Regions from separate parts of the Homo sapiens genome. Here all the other regions are linked to region 1. Evidence: promoter capture Hi-C in 16 types of primary human blood cells and fetal thymus (Javierre and others, 2016). All regions are on one chromosome and are shown on one strand. The core of a region is centred on a gene start or on the middle of the fragment in contact, and the rest is flanking DNA. Distances in the headings are between cores, read along the strand shown.

The links. The method cuts DNA at HindIII sites, captures the fragments that hold promoters and counts their contacts. A CHiCAGO score of 5 or more calls a contact.
Region 2: a contact is called between the fragment with the promoter of CDH22 here and the fragment with the promoter of NCOA5 in region 1, in 4 of 17 cell types (erythroblasts, endothelial precursors, neutrophils and 1 more). The highest score is 7.1, in erythroblasts.
Region 3: a contact is called between a fragment that was not itself captured here and the fragment with the promoter of NCOA5 in region 1, in 1 of 17 cell types (fetal thymus). The highest score is 5.3, in fetal thymus.

Annotation. Positions count from the first base shown.
Region 1 is chr20:46,087,516-46,092,383 of GRCh38, reverse strand. NCOA5 (nuclear receptor coactivator 5) reads left to right here and starts at 2,422. Exons shown (of 8, transcript NM_020967.3): 1 at 2,422-2,567. RefSeq lists enhancers at 2,259-2,308, 2,322-3,135, 2,989-3,198, 3,136-3,950 and a silencer at 2,469-2,818. The HindIII fragment of the contact is 2,710 bases long and covers 1,133-3,842 here.
Region 2 is chr20:46,306,584-46,311,451 of GRCh38, reverse strand. CDH22 (cadherin 22) reads left to right here and starts at 2,954. Exons shown (of 12, transcript NM_021248.3): 1 at 2,954-3,197. The HindIII fragment of the contact is 22,305 bases long and covers 1-4,868 here.
Region 3 is chr20:45,926,644-45,931,511 of GRCh38, reverse strand. No RefSeq gene overlaps it. Among named protein-coding and RNA genes, the nearest start is that of PCIF1, 5.6 kb to the left of the region's middle. RefSeq lists an enhancer at 3,908-4,202. The HindIII fragment of the contact is 8,397 bases long and covers 1-4,868 here.

The DNA of each region.
Region 1 (4,868 bases), core at 1,173-3,672:
TGGTGCACCCACAATCCCTTAGCTAGACACGAAGGTTCTCCAAGTCCCCACTAGACTCAGGAGCCCAGCTGGCCTCACTCAGTGGATCTTCCACTGGGCCGCAGGTGGAGCTGCCCGCCAGTCCCGCACCGTGCACCGGCACTCCTCAGCCCTTGGGCGGTCGATGGGACCAGGCACCTTGGAGCAGGGGGCTGCGCTCGTCAGGAAGGCTCAGGCCGCGCAGGAGCCCGAGGGAGGAGGGTTGGTGGGGCGGAGAGACTCGGGCATGGCTGGCTGCAGGTCCCGAGCCCTGCCCCACGGGGAGGCAGCTAAGGCCCGGTGAGAAATCGAGTGCAGCGCCGGTGGGCCAGCACTGCTGGGGGATCCGGCGCACCCTCCACAGCTGCTGGCCTGGGTGCTAAGTCTCTCACGCCTGGGGCCAGCAGGGCGGGCCGGCCGCTCCGAGTGTGGGGCCCGCCAGGCCCACGCCCACCTGGAACTCTAGCTGGCCCGCAAGCGCCGCGCGCAGCCCCGGTTCCCGCCCGTGCCTCTCCCTCCACACCTCCCCGAAAGCGGAGGGAGCCGGCTCCGGCCTCGGCCAGCCCAGAGAAGGACTTCCATGGTGCAGCGGCGGGCTGAAGGGCTCTTCAAGCGCGGCCAGAATGGGCGCCGAGGCCGAGGAGGCACCGAGAGTGAGCAAGGGCTGTGAGGGCTGCCAGCACGCTGTCACCTCTCAATAGGGTTGTGAGGATTAAATGAGATGATATGTGTAAAGGATTCAGCACATGGTAGGCACACAATAGATGTTACCTATTATGTAAAGCAAACATCTAAATAAGAAGTCACCAAGTCCTGAGCACCTGCCTCCCTACAAGAATCTTTCTTCATAAAATTAACTTGCTCCTCTATCAAAAATACTCATCAAACACTATATATTATCGTTTGTTTATTGCTCATATTCCCTAATAGGCCATGAGCTCCCTAAGCACAAGGATTTTGTCTACCTTACTCTCTACTCTCCACAAAATCAAGTGCATAAAAAACACTCATTAAACACTTAATACACAAGTCACTGAATACATCTTTTGGCTAAAGTCCACTACCCACTTGAGGTACTGCCACTCACCTCTAAACCAACATTTTTCCCTAAGCTTGGTTATCTTAATCATCTAATTAATATGATTCTTCTTAAATTTTCATAGTATTAGGATCTATATTGGAGGGAAAGGAATAAGAATGAACATTTGTTGGGTATCCATTATTTGACAGACTTTATGTCTTCATTTCTAATTTCATACAGTCTTATAAAGTGGGAATTGGAATAACCCACTTTGCCTGTGAGTAAACTAAAGTTCTAGTTACAACCATTGAGAATCCCTATTTCTTTCCATCACAGCGTTTATCTCAGTTTGCAATTACACACTCAAGTGTGATTATTCGTCTAATGCTTTCACCAGACTGTAATCTCAAAGATAGCAGAAAAGGGTCTGCATTTGCTCATAACAGCGCCTAACAAGCAGGCATATAATAAGTATAGGGCTACATAGTAGGTATGTAATAAACATTCAGTGAATAAATGAGTGGAGTGAGCATAGGGGTAGATGTCAAAGAAATCTGGCTTCTTGTAGTGTTTAAATTCCGCAGGCACCATTTTTTCTTAGTAGGCAATATTCGCAAGGAGAAGAACTAGACCCCATGGAGTCTGAGGCGTTTCCAACACTAATAAAAGAGTACCTGATTAATATAGCTATGGCTGTGATTAATAGAGTGCATTTACTATTGTGTGAGCAAATCCCATTCCCTGTGACAAATGTATTCTATACATGAAATGAACAGTACAACATTTTACAGGCTTCACGGTCAACAGTTACATTCCGGGAAATTTTTGACGTTGAACGAATATTCCAAGAATAAATAACTCAAGAAGAACCTGTGACTATATCTCCAGAAACCTTTTGCCGCTTGTCAGTGAAACTAATAGAGTACAGAGCCTATTTAAATGTAAATTTAAATACAACATTTTCTCCACCTTTCTGCTCTCTTTGTTCCTTGTGGTCCGGAGGTTACAGGACTATATATATTCTCCAATACACACGTGTATAGGGATTTGGGGTTTTTGCTTTCAGTTTTATGCAAGACTAAATCAAGGTATTTGGGGATTTGAATGTTCTGTTCCCACAGTTAGGGAGGAGGGAATGTGCTCTGAAAACAGAAAAAAAGTACTCTGGGGCGGGGGCTGAGGCGACCACCGTGGGGCCCATCCTCAGCCTAGGACGCTGTTGCTAGGCAACTCCCTGCGTTCTCAACTCCCGCCCGAGAGCCACTTCCCGGGCCCTCATTGCCAAGGAGATCGACGCCCCAACTCAGCCCTGCCGTAAACACGCGCGGTCTTGCGACAGTGCCGCGCCTGCCGCTACGTGCGCGCCCTCTGCCCCCATCTCCACTCTCCGCCCGGCCGCCATTGCCTCGTGCCCGCGCCGGTCGGTTGGTGGCGCCTTTGTCCTACGGCGGGCAGGTGGGCCGACGCGGAGGCGGCAGCGGCGGGCCTGAGGCGAAGGAGCGGCCGGGAGCCCGCCGCGCTGGTAGCGGTGAGTGCCGGGAAGCGCTGGCCGTCAGCCGAGGCGTGGGGCTGACGGGCAGGCCGTTGTGGGGGGCCTGGCCGGACGGGGAGGCTGAGGCGGGAAGGCCCACTCGACGCGCGGCCACGGTCTCGGCTCCTCTCCGGGTGCGCGCGGTGCTGCGCATGCCCGGTGCGGGGCGCGGCCGCCTCCGGCTCCCGTCAGGCCCAGGCCCGGCCGGCCGAGGCGGCCTACGGTTCTCTGTGGTGGACGCAGGTCGGCGGCGTCGCATCGCAGCCGCCTGTCTGTGCACGAACGGTCGGTCACTAGGAGTCCTCAAGGCTTCTCTGGTTGAGCCGCACATCCCGCACCCCCTGTCGAAACGGTGGAGTCGCTCGCCCGCGGGTCCTCAGCGAGTCAGTGGCGCAGTCGGGATTCGAACCGGGCCCAAGGCGTCCCGTGGCACCGGGCGTTCTCCAGGCGTGCAGCGCCGAGCGGTGTACTGAGCGCTGTCCCCCGCCACCGTCTCGCGGCCCCTGACCGCATTCTCGGGGTGTCTCCTTGTGGTGTGACACCCCACGCGTTTTGTAGGCGCGGACCTCGGGCCCAGAGAACGGGGAGAGGAACTGTTCCCGGGTTTACCACGTAGCTCAGCGCCAGCGTCCGATCCGGCCGGCTTTCCAAGCTCCCGGCGCGGGGCACTGTCCGCTCCCCGCCAGCGGGCGAGGGGCTTCTCTTAGGACGGCGTTGCACACGTTTCAGTCTCGCGTTGCACCTTTATGTCCGTGGACCATCTGTACTGCTATTTACCAAATGTTACATTTTTTAAAAAATTCAAACTGACTCTTTTTTTCTCCTTAAATATATTTAAGGCGGCAACTTCAATCACAAACCGGGTACTGGAAAGCCAGTTATTTTTCTAATGCTTATAAAAAAAATAAATATCTGTCTGTTGAAATAAACAGTGCGTCCTTGTTCCTCCTGAAATTATTCTGCGTTCCACACTTTGGGAAACGCTGCCCGAGGAGTAGCTGATTAATTGTGGTTCTTCTGGCTTGCACTCTGTGCACAGAATTTTTCCTGAGGCAAAGCAGATTCTATGAATGCCCTGGGCTCTTCAGGGATAATGTAACAGCTTTCTTGTAAACTGTTCTCTTTGTTGACTTAAAAGTGTTAGTCCCAGGGAACTGCAAGAACTGTGTTCACTCAGGTGCACCCGGTGTGCCTGAATTTTCTTACAGCGTTGTGATGTCGTAGCCCCCTGTTGGCTCATAAAAAGATGTTTCTACAAATGCTGGGGAAGCTTTTGTGAGTTTTGACAACTCTTAATTTAATGTTTTCTCTATGAGTCAGTCTGGGTGTGAAAACTAACTTTGTGTCTACTTTTTGCAACCAGTAAAGCCCATGCTTTGCATTGTGGATATTAGAAATCACTTGGCTATTTGTTAACATCCATTTCTTCCTTTATTGTGATTTCTTTGCCTTTCTTTGAGCTCATCTGTCACTCTTCAGATTGCCTTTGAAACCTCTGACACTTCTCTTAACCTAAAACTTAGAAACACTGATTTTCCTTGTAGAATGTCCCAGCGAATCCATATTGCAAGGCTCATTGGAAGGAGTTTTTCTAGATTCAGTTTGCTCAATGTTGCATACCTGTGAACACCACAAGTTTAAAGGAGGCATTGACAGATTAACTTACTTGTAAGTTAATAGTGTGTTCATAAGATCTGTTTATGTGAATGTAAGAGCAGATTTAATTTAAATCATTGACAGGAAAGTCCCATAAGTCAGTTCAGGCTTATTCAAGTTTTCTTCCCCTCCCCTCAAAGGCTGTGTAAAAAAATATATATATATGTATATGTATATATATGTGTGTGTGTGTATGTATCTCTCCCCCTGTTAAAAACATGTTTCTTTGGGGTTACCTTGGTATGATCACAATGTAGAATTTACGTAAGGCTAAGGTCATTTTCTTCACATTTCTGAGAATTTGATTTAAGCCCGGCGTCCGTTTCAGAACTTCAGCAAATGGAAACTCATCTACCAGTGCTTGAGAGCTAAGAAAAAACAACTTGTTTGTTTTGGTTTTGTTTTTGTTTTTTCTGAGACAGAGCTTCACTCTTGTTGCCCAGGCTGGAGTGCAGTGGTGCGATCTTGGCCCCCGGGTTCAAGCAATTCTCCTGCCTCAGTCTCCTAAGTAGCTGGGATTACAGGCGTGCGCCACCACGCCCGGCTAATTTTGTATATTTTTAGTGGAGACGGGGTTTCTCCATGTTGGTCAGGCTAGTCTCGAACTCCCAACCTCAGGTGATCTGCCCGCCTCTGCCTCCG
Region 2 (4,868 bases), core at 1,705-4,204, 220 kb before region 1:
CCAAGACAGGGCTGTGTGCCCTTCTGATGGAGTGGGAAGGAGAATTCTCACAAGCGCCTCCTCTTGGAATCCTTCCCTAGCCATGCCTCTCTCCCCAAGTCCTTCCTCATCCTACCCAATCCCTGGAGGAGTGGTGTCTCTCTTATTTGTAGACTCACCACACGATATAAAAAAGCACACGTTCAAACTCTAACTACAAAGCACTTGGCATTTTATTTGCCCAGAGGCAATATTGCACAACAGTTCAGTGTGCAGGCTTTGGCCCCAGCCTGCCTTGGTTTGAATCCCAGCTCTGCCATAAACTAATTGTGTGACCTTGGGCACGTTTCATAGTTGCACTGTGCCTCAGTTTCCCCATTATGAATTTATAAATTTGTTGAAAGTAAAAGGAAATTATCTGTGTAAAACATTTAGGAGAAGGCTTGACACATGGCACAGGTTCACTAAATGTTAACTGTTGTTACTATCATCTCATTTTCTCTTCACATCAATGCTGGGGGAAGTGGCTTGCCCACGTGTCACACAGTCTGCATGGGGCAGAACTGCTCTCAGAGCCCAGGCCTGCCCAGTTCTTCCTCTGTCACACTACACTGCCTCTTGCTGCCCCTGCCACACTGCAGCAGGAGTCCCAGCTTACCTTCTCCCAGACCAGAGTGAGAGGTCTGACCCAGGCCCAATGCGTCAACCTGATCTCTCTACTTGCCGTCTGAATGATCTTGCTATTTCAACACCGTGTCTCAGTTTCCTCATTTGTAAAATGGGCTAATACTAGTATCTGATTATTGTGAGGACTTAAAAGCAGAACTATGGCACACAGCAAGTGCTCAATAAACATTCAATGTGTTCTCAGAGCCTAGCCATAGTGCTCACAACAGAGTGGACACTCAGAGAAAGTTTGTTGAAGGAAGGAAGAATTGGAAATAACGGTAGAATGAGCCTGAAAATAGGAAACATTGGGATAGGAAAACCTGAGGGTCTAATAAAGAGTCATGGGGAGCTGGGTGCAGCAGCACATGCCTGGTGTCCCAGTTACTTGAGAGGCTGAGGCAGAATGATCACCTGAGTCCAGGAATCCAGCCTGGACAACATAGTGAGACCCCCATCTCAAAAAAAAATAAAAATAAAAGAGAGAGAAGAGAGAGACCAGAGCAAAAGAGAAAGATGTGACAACAGTTCATTCAATAACATTTATTGAGCACCTACTGTGTGCATGCAGATGTGACAGCAACAGTGTCCCAGACCAAAACAACCTGTGGACAACTAAGTAGGTCTGACTCCAGAGATGAACAGCACACACCAGAGCCTGGAGGAAGAGGCAAAGAAGGAATGGGAACTGGAGCAAACAGCAAAAGTGAGTCAGAGCGGGAGGAGAGAACCAAAAGTGAAGAGATGCACCTGGAAGGCTGGCCTCTGGTCTCTGAAAGCATGAAAGAGTGGAGGCTAAGAATAGAGAGGAGAGGGGAAGAGAGAGATGGAGAAAAGGAAGGCGATAGAAAGGCAAGGCTGGAAGAGATCAATGAAGGGAAATAAACCAAGAGAAGGACGTAGGGGAGGGAACAGACTGGCACAGTGGAGAATACATCTCAAAATAAATAAATGAATGATGGAGTTTAGTAGGAGGGGCCAGAGGGGCAGCCAGCAGGAGAGGTGATTCCAATCATCAGCAAGACGGACTAGGGTGTGGAGATGGAGATGGAAATTGGGGAAGGAGGCGAGGAGGAGAGAAGGATAGGGGCGAGGTAGAGCTGGGGGTCCTGGAGGGCCCTGCCCCCTCTTTGCCATGAACTTCAGCAGCTGCTTGTGGGTGATTAAATGGCTGGTCATTGGCAGCTTGGCGGGACAGAGGTCTGCAGCTGTCCAGTCTCCTGTTATCCTTCACTCACCTATCTGGAAGCCATGGGGAATAGGGGGGCGGGCAACTCCTAAGGGGACCTACAACCCAAGACAAAGGGTGGGTCTATGGGAGTCACTGGTCCTATCCTACCATCAACGACCTCATATTGGGAACTCAGGAGTGGGGTGGGAGGGTCTCCTCCATTAGGCCTCATCCCAGAGAGATGAAGTAGTAAGGAGAGCCAGGCAGCCAGGAGAAAGAAACAGGGCCAGGTGGAAAAAACATCAGGGAGCAGACCAGCCGGATTTTTAAAAGAACGGAAAACCCAACCAGCAAGGAGTTTCTGGGCAGTGGGAAGATTTTATTGGGAGACTTCTCCAGGTCAAGGTGGCACCAAGTTAAGGATGGAGGTGTCTTGTTTTGCCTGCTTACTTTGTTGGTTGCAAGGATGTCCAGCGGGACTCTCCAGAGGAAAAGCCCACAAGTTTCTCTCCCGGGGACACCCGACCTCCCACCTGCCTGGAGACTCAGCCCTGGGCACCTGGTCGGTGTCCACCTCAATGCACAGTGACTGTTTCTGAACTGGCAGATCTGGTCTGTGCAAGGTGCCTTTCTGGGCAGCAAGCCGGGGCGGCCACTGTTCGAGAAGCCTGCTCCTACCCTGGCCTGCGCCCCTGCTCCTCTGAAGGCGGCCTCCCGCAGTAGTCAGGGGGCGGAAATGGGAAGCCCTATTCGCAGTAAAATCAGGTGGGGAAATAGGCTCTGGTCTCAAACTGCGGCCACCTGGGGAGCTGCCAGGCGAGGAGGTAGATGGTCCCCCTCCTGGGGGCGCTCCCTTCGCGCGGATCTGGGGTTGGAGGAGGGAGGGGCACTGTCCCCTGGGGGGTTTCCTGGGACTGGGCCGCCCGAGAGAGGGAAAGGCTGTCCCCTCCTGGTGTAGGAGGGGCGCGATCCGGGGGGCGGGGGCTGGGGTTCCCCGGCTGCGGGGGTCCGGGCCGGCGGCCGCCTGCGGCTTGGCGCTGCGCGGCTCCTGCCCGGCGGGCCCTGCATTCTCCGAGTCTCCACCAGAGGCTGCGGGAGGAAGGAAGGGATCCGTCCCTTGCACACTTCCCCCCAGTCAGACACGCACACTCCCTCGCTCCCGCTCGCTCGCTCACTCCCTCGCTCTCTCGCTCTCTCGCTCTCTCGCTCACACACACGCGCGCACACGCCGCCGCGGCTCCCCCTCTCGCTCCCGCTCTCCCTCCGGCTCCTGCGGGCGGCCGCGGGGCTCCGGACTCGCCCGCTGCCCGCGCCGGGGCTCCCGCCCCACGCAGCGTCCCGAGGCGGCAGGACTAGGGGGAGCCCCGGGCCGCTCCCCGAGGTAAGAGCGCGGGGTGCCGCGGGAGGAGCGGCCGGATCGCCGCCGAGGGGAGGCTGCCCGGCAGGGAGGGAGCCCCCTGGCCGGCGGGAGCGGCCGGGCAGGCGGCGCGGGGGGCGAGCCTCCAGCCGCAGGAGGAGCCGGGGTGCCTGCGCCCGGCCCTGCGCGCCCCCTCCTCTCGGCCGGGAGGGCGGGGAGGGAGTTTCCCACGTCCAAACTTTCCCCGGCGCGGAGCCGAGCCGCCTCTCGGCCCGAAGCCCGCAGCTCCCACCCGTCCCCACAACCTCGTCCGCCGCGCGCCCGGGAGCCTCCGGGACCCCCGCGGGCCGAGGGGTGGCAGCGCCAGGGGCCGAGCCGGCGCGCCAAAAGGGGCTGGGAAGGTGGCGCACAGCCCTGACGCGAGGGCTGGGACCCAGGCGTTCCCGGTCCCCCAACCCTGCTAGCGGGGCTCGGCTCCCCGGCCCCTCCCAGAGGCGGGGTCCGGGGCCGGGAAAATACCGCACGGCGCGAGCGTGTGCGCGCGGTGTGTGTGTGCGAGGTCGTGCCGCGTCCGGGGACACCCGGAGGCTGACTCCAGCCGCGGCGACACGCACGGTTCTGGTCCCCTCTGAGCCGGGGAGGCGGCCCACAGGGACCCCTGCCGGCCCCACCGGCGCGACCCCCCCTGCCCTATGGCCGTCGGGCGGGCTGGCGGTGAGCGAGAGCCAGCGCTGCTCTCTTCCTTAGGACCCGACTCCGGAGACACCGTCCCCGCTGGGGAAGAAGGACGGGGCCCCCGACAGCCTAACGTCCAAAGAGAGCGCCACTTAGGGCTAACCCTCGGGGGCCGCGGCGTTTACTGTGAAGAGTGGACTGCGTGGGCGCGCGGGGTGCCGGGCAGCCCTGGGTGGGCACAGTGTGGACCCGTCTCGCTCGCGCCTCCCCGCTGCCTCTTCTCTGGCAACGTCGGGCCCTGTCCCAGGCGGGGCTGCAGAGGGTAGGGCTGATCCAGGATCCCCCGAGGTCTCCCCGAGGTGCAGGGCACCCCCTTGTGGCGGGCAGAGAAGCTGCTGTTTGAAGCTGCTCAGGTCTTCCGAGGTGCTCGCTCCTTGGAACCTCTTCTCTCCAAACCCTTCGGGCGTCGCCAGGGTTGCGCATGCCAGCTTCTTTTTCCGTGGGGCTGATTCCAGCACTCCCCAGGTTTCTGGGGCTGGCCGAGGTGCCCCCAGCACAGGCAGCGGCTCATTTGAGGGCTTTGGCTGTTGCCAGCTCTCTCTCCCTCTCCACCCAGGTTCAGGATCTCATCCTCTTCTCCCACTGGTCAGCGCCAATACCCTATATCAGCATCACCACTGCCCTAGGGCCCAAAGGCTCCTCCCTAACCACCGCGACTCTCTGTCCTTCATTTGTATCCCGTATATGTGTCCATCAGTGCCCACTCCGTCCCCCTCAGTTGCCCCTAGTCTACAGCCCTTGTTGAAACTTGGCCTCTACACCCATAGTGACATCCTTTGGTCTTTGCCCACCAATGACCATTTCCTCGTCCCCCCCAACCCCGACCCATCTTCTATCCTGTCTGCCTCAGTTTTTCTGTAGCACTCAACTGTTCCCTGCCCCAGCCATTTCTCTACTTCACCCTTATTTCCCTCCTTGTCCCAGTGTCTGGGACACTCCTCTTCCATTCCTCCTGGAAGG
Region 3 (4,868 bases), core at 659-3,158, 160 kb after region 1:
AATTCCAGCTACTCAGGAGGCTGAGGCAGGAGAATCGCTTGAACCCGGGAGGAAGAGGTTGCAATGAGCCGAAATCACACCATTGCACTCTAGCCTAGGTGACAGGAGCAAAACTCCGTCTCAAACAAAACAAAACCCAACCTCTTCTCACCATTCTAATGACTACCTTAAGAGCTGGCGTTTCCCACCCCTACCCCCCTTTTTTTTAGAAGCAGAGTCTCAGTCTATCTCCCAGACTGATGTGCACTCATAGCTCATTGTAACCTTGAACTCCTTGCCTTAAGCAATCCTCCTGCTTCAGCCTTCCAAAGTGCTGGGATTACAGGCATGAGCCACCACACACAGCCCAATTTTGTTTTGTTTTTTGAAAAGGAGTCTTGCTCTGTCGCCCAGGCTAGCGTGCAGTGGCGCGATCTCGGTTCACTGCAACCTCTGCCTCCCAGGTTCAAGTGATTCTTCTGCCTCAGCCTCCCGAGTAGCTGAGATTACAGGTGCCCGCCACCATGCCCGACTAGTTTTTTTTTTTTTTTTTTTTTTTTTTTTTGTATTTTTAGTATAGACGGGATTTCACCACGTTGGCCAGGCTGGTCTCGAACTCCTGACCTCAGGTGATCCACCCACCTCAGCCTCCCAAAGACAAATTTTTAAAACCTTTTTATTGTTAAGAATAGCATATGGGGCTGGGTGTGGTGGCTCACACCTGTAATCCCAGCACTTTATCCCAGGAGGCCTAAGCGGGCAGATCATGAGGTCAGGAGATCGAGTCCATCCTGACCAACATGGTGAAACCCCATCTCTACTAAAATACAAAAAATTAGCCGGGCACGGTGGCACGCGCCTGTAGTTCCAGCTACTCCGGAGGCTGAGGCAGGGACACCACTTGAACCTGGGAGGCAGAAGCTGCAGTGAGCCAAGATCGCACCACTGCACTCTAGCCTGGTGACAGAGCAAGACTCCGTCTCAAAAAAAAAAAAAAAATAGTGTATGATAGACTGGCACAGTAGCTCATGCCTGTAATCACCAACACTTTGGGAGGCCAAAGTGGGAGGATACCTTGAGGTCAGGAGTTAAGAGACCAGCCTGGGCAATGTAGCAAGACCCTGTCTCTGAAAAATGTTTTAAATAAAATTAGCCGGGCATGGTGGCATGGGCCTGTAATTCCAGCCACTTGGGAGTCTGAGGTGGGAGGATCACTTGAGCCCTGGACGTCGAAGCTGCAGTTAGCTGCACTCCAGCCTGGGCGACAGAGACCGTGTCTTAAACATAGCTGGGCGCAGTGGCTCATGCCTGTAATTCTAGCACTTTGGGAGGTGGAGGTGGGTGGATTGCTTGAGTCCAGGAGTTTAAGACCAGCCTGGGCAACATGGTGAAACCTGCGTCTCTACAAAAAACACAAAAATTAGCCAGGTGCGGAAGCACACACCTGTAGTCCCAGCTACTTAGGGGGCTGAGGTGGGAGGATCACTTGAGCCCAGGCGGTCAAAACTGCAGAGAGCTATGATCATGCCACTGCACTCCAGCCTGGGCAACAGAGCAAGACCCTGTCTCAAAAAAATGTATACAAAATAGACTGGGCATGGTGGCTCACGCCCGTAATCCCAGTACTTTGGGAGGCCGAGGCGGGTAGATCACAAGGTCAGGAGTTTGAGACCAGCCTGGCCAACATAGTGAAACATCGTCTCTACTAAAAATACAAAAAAATTAGCTGGGTGTGGTGGTGCATGCCTATAGTCCCAGCTACTCAGAAGGCTGAGGCAGGAGAATCGCTTGAACCTGGGAGGCAGAGGTTCGATGAGCCGAGATCAGACCACTGCACTCCAGCCTGGGCAACAGAGCGAGACTCCGTCTCAAGAAAAAAAAAAAAAAAAAGAATAGCACACATGGAAAAGTGCACAAAACATAAATGTAAAACCTAATGATTTATCAAAAAGTGAGCCTGGGTTAGCATCACCCATGCCATGGTACTGAACAGTCAAGCAGAAGACCTCTGCAGGGTAATTGGTGTTCCAACTACTTTTGTGATAATCGCTTCCTTGCTTTTGGAGTTGTACCACCTGAGAATGTGTCCCTAAACACTGTAGTTTCGTTTTGTCTGTTCCTTGAACTTTATGTAAATTGAATTATACAGTATTATTTTGTGTCTGCCTTCTTTTGCACAAGAATACACTTGCAAAACTCCTTTATGTTGTTTCATATAGCTGTGGTGAGTTCATTTTCATTGCTGTTTTTTTGTTTTCCACTGTATGTTTATCTACTCTATTGTTAAGGGATATAAGTGAAGCCTCCCACCTGCCATACCTCTCAATTTCTTTTCTAAAAATTATTTTTATTTTTATTTATTTTTTTAGACAGAGTCTCGCTCTGTCGCCCAGGCTGGAGTGCAGTAGCGCGATCTCAGCTTGCTGCAACCTCTGCCTCCTGGGTTCAAGTGATTCTTCTGCCTCAGCCTCCCAAGTAGCTGGGATTACAGGCACCCGCCACAACACCTGGCTAATTTTTGTATTTTCAGTAGAGACAGGGTTTCTGCATGTTGGCCAGGCTGGTCTCGAACTCCTGACCTCAAGTGATCTGCCCGCCTCGGCCTCCCAAAGTGCTGGGATTACAGGCATCAGCCACCGTGCCTGGCTTTATTTATTTGTTTATTGAGTCTGGCTCTGTCACATGGGCTGGAGTGCCATGGCACAATATCAGCTCACTGCAGCCTCCGCCTCCCAAGTTCCAGCAATTCTCCTGCCTCAGCCTCCCAGGTAGCTGGGATTACAGGCACACGCCACCACGCCTGGCTAATTTTTGTATTTTTAGTAGAGACAGGGTTTCACCGTGTTGGCCAGGATGATCTTGAACTCCTGACCTCAGGCGATCCACCTGCCTCTGCCTCCCAAAGTGCTAAGATTATAGGTGTGAGCCACCATGCCCAGTCTCTCTCTCTCTCTCTTTTTTTTTTTAACTAGAGATGGGGTCAGTATGTTGCCAAGACTATCTCTAACTTCTGGGCTGAAGCAATTCTCCCACCTCAGCTTCCTAAAGTGCTAGGATTACAGGTGTGAGCCACTGTGCTTGGCCATACCTGTTAATTTTCAAAGTGGCCTTCTGATCCTCCAGCCTTGCTTCTCTTCTAGTTCATAATCCACCAAGGAGCCACGGGGATCTGGCCATATAGCAAATCTCATCAAGTCACTCTGGGCTTAAAGCTCTTGAATGTCTCCCCATTGACTACGGGACAAAATCCCAAACCCTTAATTTGGCCTACAAAACCAGAATTATAATGAGCTACCATGGCAGAATATTTACTATGCACAACGTCAAGCACTTTACACACATTCATTTTATTCATGATCTGGACCTTCAAACCATCTCTTCTTGATCCAGTCCCAGCTACCATGAACTACTTCATAATTTCCCTAAATGTGCCAGGTTCTTTCATGACCCTGATCCTTTGTGTTTTTGTTTATTTCTTTCTTTGTTTTGTTCGTTTTTGAGCCAGAGTCTCCATTTGTATCCAGGCTCACTGTAGCCTTGACCTCCTAGGCTCAAGTGATCCTCTTACCTCAGCCCCCTAAGTAGCTGGGACTGCAGGAGCACACCACCACCACACCTGGCTCATTAAATTTTTTTTTTTTTTGTAGAGACAAGATCTCACTATGTTGCCCAGGCTGGTCTCAAACTCCTAGCCTCAAGGAATATTCCTGCTTCAGCCTCCCAAAGTGTTGGGATTTCAGGCATGAGCCACCGTGTCCAGCTCCTGAGTCTCTGCATATGCTGTTTGCCCTTACTCTTCTTCCCCTCTTGACCTAATTCAGCCTTCGAGTCTTAGCCTAGATGTCGCCTCCACCAGGCAGCCTTCCCTGAACTTCCTTCTACCCCGGCTAGGACAGGTTCCCTCTCTTGTACTACCACAATGGTCTAAGCTCATAATGTTTGTCAATTTTCCTCATCCACTAGGCTGTGCGCTGCTTAAGGGTGGGGCCTGGGGCTTATTCACCCTTGTAACCCCATGCTCAGTACTGTGCCTGACCCTCTGTAAATATTTGATGACCATGAACAGACCACTCTGGGTTGAAGTCTAGGTGGCTTTTTCAGGTAGCCCGTTTATTTATTTATTTTTTGAGACAGGATCTCCCTCTGTCGCACAGGCTGGAATGCAGTGGTGTGATCTTGGCTCACTGTAACCTCTGCCTCCAGGATTCAAGCGATTCTCCTGCCTCAGCCTCCGGAGTAGCTGTGACTAAAGGCACACATCACCAGGCCCAGCTAATTTTTGTGTTTTTAGTAGAGATGGGGGTTTCACCGTGTTGACCAGGCTGGCCTCGAACTCCTGACCTCAAGCAATCTGCCTGCCTCGGCCTCCCAAAGTGGTGGGATTACAGGCGTGAGGCACTGTGCCTGGCCAGGTATCCCCGTTTCTATTCCAGGCTCTGGTTTCTGTGGTGGGAACACCAAGGCAGCACCCTGTGGGCTGCCTGCTGTGGCCGAGTCTCTGTCAGTAGCCTGGAGTCTTTTATTCCCAATATAGGGATGAGCAGTTGAGCAAAGATCCTAAGGCTTTCCATTTCTCCAGCTACTTTTCTGAACTAAGAAGCCTGGGTAGACAATAGGTCTGGGCTGAGAGAGGTGGTTGGAATAAGCTGGGCTCCTCTCCCTGGCACCAGGGCCGGCTGCATAGATTTAGAAAGGCCCATGCTTACTGGGTGTGGAGGCTCATGCCTGTAATCCCAGCACTTTGGGATGCCAAAGTGGGAGGATTGCTTGTGGCCAAAAGTTCAAGACCAGCATGTGCAACATAGAACCCCATCTCTACATAAAATAATAATAGTAATAATTAGCTGGGCATAGTAGGTGCTCCTGCAGTCCTAGCTACTTGGGAGGCT